2 separate regions of the Homo sapiens genome follow, and region 1 is linked to region 2. The links are contacts of gene promoters, found by promoter capture Hi-C in blood cells and fetal thymus (Javierre and others, 2016). All regions are on one chromosome and are shown on one strand. The core of a region is centred on a gene start or on the middle of the fragment in contact, and the rest is flanking DNA. Distances in the headings are between cores, read along the strand shown.

Region 1 (3,306 bases), core at 763-3,262, 35 kb before region 2:
ACTTGGTGACAATTCTGAATACAATTACTGAGGAGAGGGTTTCTGGTGTGAGACTTTTCTTATAAGGTACTCAGGCAAGGTGCCAGTTTTATTGGGTTTCTCTGGAATCTAGTCCTGGGAGACAGAATCATGGTGCTTATGTACATTCGCCTCTTACCTCAGGTCTATCCAATTTTCTAGAATGGCCTTTTCATCTGACCTTTGCTACTTGATACCACTCTTAATAATGTTCCAGATTTATCTTATGCTCTACATTTCTTTTTCATTTTGACTAGAAATTCCTTTTTTGAGACCTTTCAACTAAGAGAAATACCACCAGCTGCCTGCCATGCTTGAAGACAATCATTAAATTCTTTCTCTGGTCCCTCAATCCGTTGTCTTTCACTAGAGGATAGAGATGGTGTACTAGAACAGAAGACAGGTCTTGTCATCAGAAAGATCTTAGTGCAGTCCTGTTGGGGTCACTTGGTATGTGACCTCAAGCAGATTAGTTAAGCTCTCTGAGCCTGTTTCCTTTTTTTTTTTTCATTTGGAAAATGAAGATATCTTCTTTGTATATTGTTATAAGGATTGAGATAATGAATGTAATACACCTGCCATCTACCTGGCCTACAGCAGAAACCCATTTTAATTTGTGATTCTACTTTTCCCAAACTAGAAACATTGCTTTAAAGGACTGAATGTTCTAGAAATGAACATCTACAATGAAATGGGACTCTCCAGTTAAATGCTGAATTGGCAACTCACTCTAGTAAGGAAGGATAGAAACTTGTTTCATTGCTTGACTGGGCACTGTGCTAGGGACTTCTCAAGCATCTGGCTATTGGGAGGTGTGTATTAGCTTATCATTTTCATTGCTAATTCACCTGTAAATGGAAAGAGCAATACCTTCCCTGCTACGTGGATTATTACAGGGCCAGAATAAGAGCATTGTTGTAAGTGGTTTGAAAAACAAAAGAAGATATGCTCAATATTGCATTAATGGAGATCTATTATCACTATTTTTTCATCCTGTTTTTGTACGGGTCTGAGTTTCTTTTCCTGAAAACTCCCTGTGAGATTGGTTAGCATTGCTTCAGTTTTCTAGGGATGAGGCACAGAGGCTCAAGCAAGTGCTGGACTTTCTGCCACATGCAGGAAGTGGCCTCACTACTTTGAAGGTTTTTTTTTGCTGTGATGTCTAGGTGAAGATAAACCTGTTGAAGAATCTTACCTCATATACCCGATTACGTAATCCTCCATTTGTATTTATGGTAAAATCAATTTTTCCATCTTTTTCCTGAGAAAAAGAGAATGGAAATATGGATTAGGGGCTGATTTTTTTTAATGTTGAAAAAGAGAAATTTAAGGAGTGCAGATGGCTGCTTATGCAATTGTGAAAGTCACCAAAGAGCTGATACCTGACTGGGATTAAACTTTGAAGTACTGTAATCTTTCTTCATCAAAATATGCAAAACAGCATCATGGATTGTTAAGAAAAATATTGAGCTTTTCACTTCACCATCAAAAAATTCATACCGGTTAAGCTTCTCAATGAAGTCATCTGAAGAGAAAAAAACAGTAACTTTTAGGAAGAAACAATTGTTTGGCTACCGGTTTCCCCTTGAGGCTAGTAATTTCACCTTCCATTTGCAAATGTGCGTTTCATTGACATTTGGTTAAGTGTGTGTGGGTTGCAGTGGTATAATACCAGTCTATCTTTAGTACAATGTCTTTTGGAACTAACAAATACCTTTCTAATAAAAAAAATTTAATGCCCTAATGTAAAAAGGAGGAAGGCAAAGGAGCAAATGAAAAACAGTAGTTCCTAGAAGAAAATTCATTTAGGCAGGAGCCTAGTGAATTGATCTCCCTGCTTAATGATTAGAGTATCAAGTGTGGCTTCTTATTAAAGTTTGGGATTCTGCCAAAATGGAACATATGTTTATGGACCAGTGATATGCTGTGGTTCTTTATTGTAGCCCATTTTCCCAAAGCTGCTGGGTTTTATGGGAAAACATCTTCCTTACCACTTACCTCTCTAATCATCTTTGAGAAATCCCATTTTTGTAGGCACTAAGCAGCATTCATTTACATAGATGACTCAACCAACTATTACCTTATGTCTGCCATGTGCAAAACTCTGGCTGAGTAATAAGAAAGATCAAAAGATAAATTAGACCTGAATCTTGCCCTCAAGGAAGATAGAACATTTATATATTCCTGTAGTACTGACAGAAAACGTGTGGTATAATAATGAGGGAAAGGAGCAATCTAGTTTTTTTCCTTTATTGTTTTCTTAGTTTTAAAAAAATTCCCAGCACATAGTATGTCTTCATATTTTTTGTTGAATATATGAGAGAGATATAGATCATGTACTATGAAAATTCTGAGAAATTTTCCTCTTGGTGGGTATCTGGGAAAACTTGAGCAGATACCGTCTAAACGTGCCTAGGATTTGCAGAAAAGTGGAGGAAGAGAAGGTACACAGTTATGAAGATGGATTCTTCTGTTTACAGAAAGCTTTCAGTGACAGAGGGAGAGGGAGCGTGGAGGGCATTGTGGCCACCAGGATCTGGGATGGAGTGGGTGGCATGCAATGGGAAGGAAGGTGATAATCTTTGATAAAGACTGAAAAGAATGCCAGGCAGCAGAGACAGCAGGAACAGATACTTTCCAAAATATCTGGGATGATGAGGAAAGGGTAAAATTGTTAGTAAATTAAAGGTTTCTGGGATCAAGGGGATGTTTTTAATTATAAGGAAGCCTTGACAATGGTTGAACTAATTTTCACTCCCACCAACAGTGTATAAGCACAGTGTGGCGATTCCTCACAGGGCTGAAGACAAAAATACCATTTGACCCAGCAATTCCATTACTGGATATATACCCAAAGGAATATAAATCATTCTTTTATAAAGACGCATGCATGCATACATTGATTGCTGCACTATTCACAATAGCAAAGACATGGACTCAAATGCCCATCAGTGATAGACTGGATAAAGAAAATGTGGTACATATACACCGTGGAATACTATATAAAAACATATAAAAAAATTAAAAAAAAACAATATCCTTTGCAGGTACATGGAGTTGGAGGCCATTATCCTTAGCAAAGTAATGCAGGAACAGAAAACCAAATACTGCATATTCTCACTTATAAGTGGGAGCTAAATGATGAGAACGTATGGACACATGGAGGGGAACAACCCACACTGGGGCCTATCGGAGGGTGAAGGGTGGGAGGAAGGAAAGGATCAGGAAAAGTAACTAATGGGTGCTAGGCTTAATATCTGGGTGACAAAATAATCTATACAATAAACC
Region 2 (3,540 bases), core at 550-3,049:
CCTGGGGACAAATCTCCTTGAGGTGACTTGCTTTATTCTTCCCCTTGCTTCTCAACAAAGTGACACAGAGGCTAGAGGAGCCTCTTCTCTTCTCTTTGGAGAATCAAAGACCTTTATTGTAGAGAAGCACCAGACTGTGTTATTACATATTTATTCTTGTAATTGAAAAATATTCATTCTCATTTTCTGAACGATTTTGTTTCTTAGTCGAATATGAGCTGTTTAGGAGGTATTAAACATTTGTTCATTTCTTTATATACTTACTTATTCCCTTATCCAGAGGGAGAAGGCAAAGTATGTATTGTGTTACCCCATTTTTCTTGTTTCTGAAATCAAATTAGTTGCTTCCTAAATTTTCATTAGGAATAATCCTTGGCCGGATGGGGTGGCACATGCCTGTAATCCTAGCACTTTGGGAGACTGAGGTGGGAGGATCACCTGAGGTCAGGAGTTCGAGACCAGCCTGGCCAACATGGCGAAACCCCGTCTCTACTGAAAATACAAAAAAAAAAAAAAAAAAATGCCAGGCACAGTGGAGCGTGCCTGTAGTATCAGCTACTTGGGGGGCTGAGGCAGGATAATCACTTGAACCTGGGAGGCAGAGGTTGCAGTGAGCAGAGATTGTGCCACTGCACTCCAGCCTGGGCGACAGAGTGAGAATCCGTCTCAGAAAAAAAAAAAAAAAAAGGAATGATCTTTATGCAGTCAAATTTCATGACACAGTTTTTCCAAATGACTAACTTACTTCAGAAAAGAGAATTATTTAGTCCAATAATTTGATAAATTGTTCCTCACTTGCATATATAAAGAAAGTTGTATAATCTTTTCCTGACATTTTAAAGAATAAAATAGATTTTATCTTGATAGAGTTAGTAATGTATGGGATAAGTACCCATACATTACTAATGTATTATATTATATTATACTACTTGTGGCATAGGGCATTCTGCTACTTTCCAGTGACCATTTTCTCCCCATCTCTCTTCTCTTTCCAGTCTCTATCCTTCTTACTCTCATTGCCTTTTCTTCTCTCCGTGTTTCCCTTAGTCTTGGACTTTCTAGGATGTCTAGCAGATAAATCTCTCACTTCTAGACCATATGTCCCCTACCCCCTCCCTTTTTTTTTAAGAGACAAGGTCTTGCCATGTTGCCTAGGCTGACCTCAAACTCTTGGGCTAAGCTATCCTCCTGCTTTAGCCTCTTGAGTAGCTAGGACTATAGATACATATCCCTATGCCTGGCTGGGACCAGATGGCCTTTCTGAATCCTTTCTAGTAGGTGATTCTCTCTCCTGGAGAAACTCTTTCCTTAAAGCTTGCTTTTTTTTTTTTTTTTTTTGCCAACCCTCAGAGCAGACAATCTATCTATAAAGTCAGATTTGAGTGGAGAATTAAAGGAATTATCTGAATAATTAAAACAAGAACACTAATATCTTTGAAAAGGCTATTTAAGACTTAATGATGCCTACAACCATTTACTTGTTAAAGTCTACTTAAATATTTATTCTACATTGCTAGCGCTCCAGACATACATGCATATCTTATTAGTGGATTCATTCAAAATATTCACACACATGGAATAAACTCAAGAACATAATAACTCCTAAATAGGCTTTGATCAGAAAAAATACCATTTTCAAGGAACAGAAAACCAGTTTGAATATAACAATCATAAATTTGGTTCCTACCTGACACATACTCTGTGAGGAGCTTCTGCAACAGTGGTACATTTTCAAGATAAAGTTCTAAGTTCTAGTTCTAAGAGGCAGTGTCCATCCACTCAGGTCTACAGGCTCTGTGTGCATCCATATGCATAGGGATGTCTATATATAGGCTATGTAAGACAGTGGACAAATTACCTTTCTGTCAGCTTTAATAATTAACTCTCATTAACTTTTACAACAATGAAAAGACTGCAATGTGGTCTTGACCTTTGAGACTTTGATCAGCAGAAGTGATGATGAAGATTGCTTCCTCAAGTTCCTTGTGAGATTAAACCACCAGTGGGTGGTTTAATGCACTTGTGTGTACGTAATTTCATTGGTTTGCAGAGATTGCACAGCAGATGCTCACGTGTACTTAAAAAAAAAAAGAATCTTCTCAAGGGTTATCTCCTTGACATTTCACCAACCTGTTTAGATGAGAGTTTAGTGGTGGTGTTTTTTGGCTGGATGACTCCATGGAATCTGTCATGGGCTGCAGAAGTGTGGTGTATAGGTTAACTCCTGGTATGATAAAGGCCCTCATTAGGAACACTCACCCAACTCCCAGCCACAGGCCATATCTGCATTCCAATTTCTGCCCCCACCACAGCTCTTCCTAAGAGCAATAAACCCTATGTTGCTAAACACAATGAATACTTTCAACTCTCATCTTACTTAAAAGCATTTGGCATTGCTGACTACACTTTCATGAACTCCTCTTTTTATTTTAAAAATTATTTAACTAATTAGTTAATTTTAGAGATGGGGTATTGCTGTGTTGCCCGGGCTGGTCTCAAACTCCTGGCCTGAAGTGATCCTCCTGCTTTAACCTCCTGAGTAGCTGGGATTAGAGGCCTCAGCCATCATGCCGGGCTAAAATCTTCTCTTCTTGAAATGCTAAAAAAAAATTTTTAACACACTTGTTTTTCACCTCATCCTTTTTGCCAATTTCTCCTCTAACTCTTTCTTTGGCATTTCCTAAGATTCTGTTCTGAATTTCCTTCTCCTCTCTTGCTACCCTCTTACCCTAAATAAGAGTCCTATGGCTCCCAGCAACATTCAGATTTCTAACCCCAGCTCTCTAGGTCCACATATTTAACTGCCTATTCCACATCTTTGCTTGGATGCCTCATAGGCATCTCAAACACGACACATATCGAGATTAAGACCTCTTGATCTTTCCTCCCAAATCTGCTCCATCTCTAGTCTTCCCCATTTCAGTAAAGAATATTCCCCTTTACTCATGTCAGAGACCTGGGAACCATCTCTGACACTTCTTCTTGCAGACCTTCTCCCCACCCGCAGCCAATCCATCCTTAAACCCTATTGAGCATGCCTCCAAAATACATCCCAAAGCCATCACTTTTCTTCATCTTCACTCTTACCTTTGCTGCACTTCTTGCTTCCTCTCGCAGCCCTCCCCATCTCTTTACCACTCATTAATCAGAATGATCTTTTCACACTAGTCCTCTTTGTGGGGCTGATGATTACACAGAGGGAAAACAGGCCTCCAAAGTCTTTGCATGATCTCCCCCTGCACAACTCTCCAACCTCATCTGACTCTGCTCTTACTTTTGTTTTCTCCACTCCCACCATGGTGGCCTCCTGTAGTCCCAAATTTGCCCACTCTTTGCAGACATCATTTTCTCTGCTTAAATGCACTTCTCTCTCTCTCTCGGTTTGGCTGTTACTTAGCTTCAACATCACTTTCTCAAGGAGAACCACTTTGACTTCCTAATCTCAATTAGCCCCTCTTGTGGCATTCTCTCAGAGTATTTTTTTAAGTCCCTTGGTTAATTTGCATGTACTTTTTAAAACATAGCATCATAATTTAAAAA

The links. The method cuts DNA at HindIII sites, captures the fragments that hold promoters and counts their contacts. A CHiCAGO score of 5 or more calls a contact.
Region 1: a fragment that was not itself captured here is called in contact with the fragment with the promoter of SLC26A3 in region 2 in 1 of 17 cell types (erythroblasts); the score reaches 5.2 in erythroblasts.

What each region holds. Positions count from the first base shown.
Region 1 is chr7:107,766,366-107,769,671 of GRCh38, forward strand. It overlaps SLC26A3 (solute carrier family 26 member 3), which reads right to left. Exons shown (of 21, transcript NM_000111.3): 19 at 1,401-1,543; 20 at 1,214-1,279. Among named protein-coding and RNA genes, the nearest start is that of CBLL1-AS1, 23 kb to the left of the region's middle. The HindIII fragment of the contact is 976 bases long and covers 1,525-2,500 here.
Region 2 is chr7:107,801,424-107,804,963 of GRCh38, forward strand. It overlaps SLC26A3 (solute carrier family 26 member 3), which reads right to left and starts at 1,800. Exons shown (of 21, transcript NM_000111.3): 1 at 1,688-1,800. The HindIII fragment of the contact is 4,247 bases long and covers 1,313-3,540 here.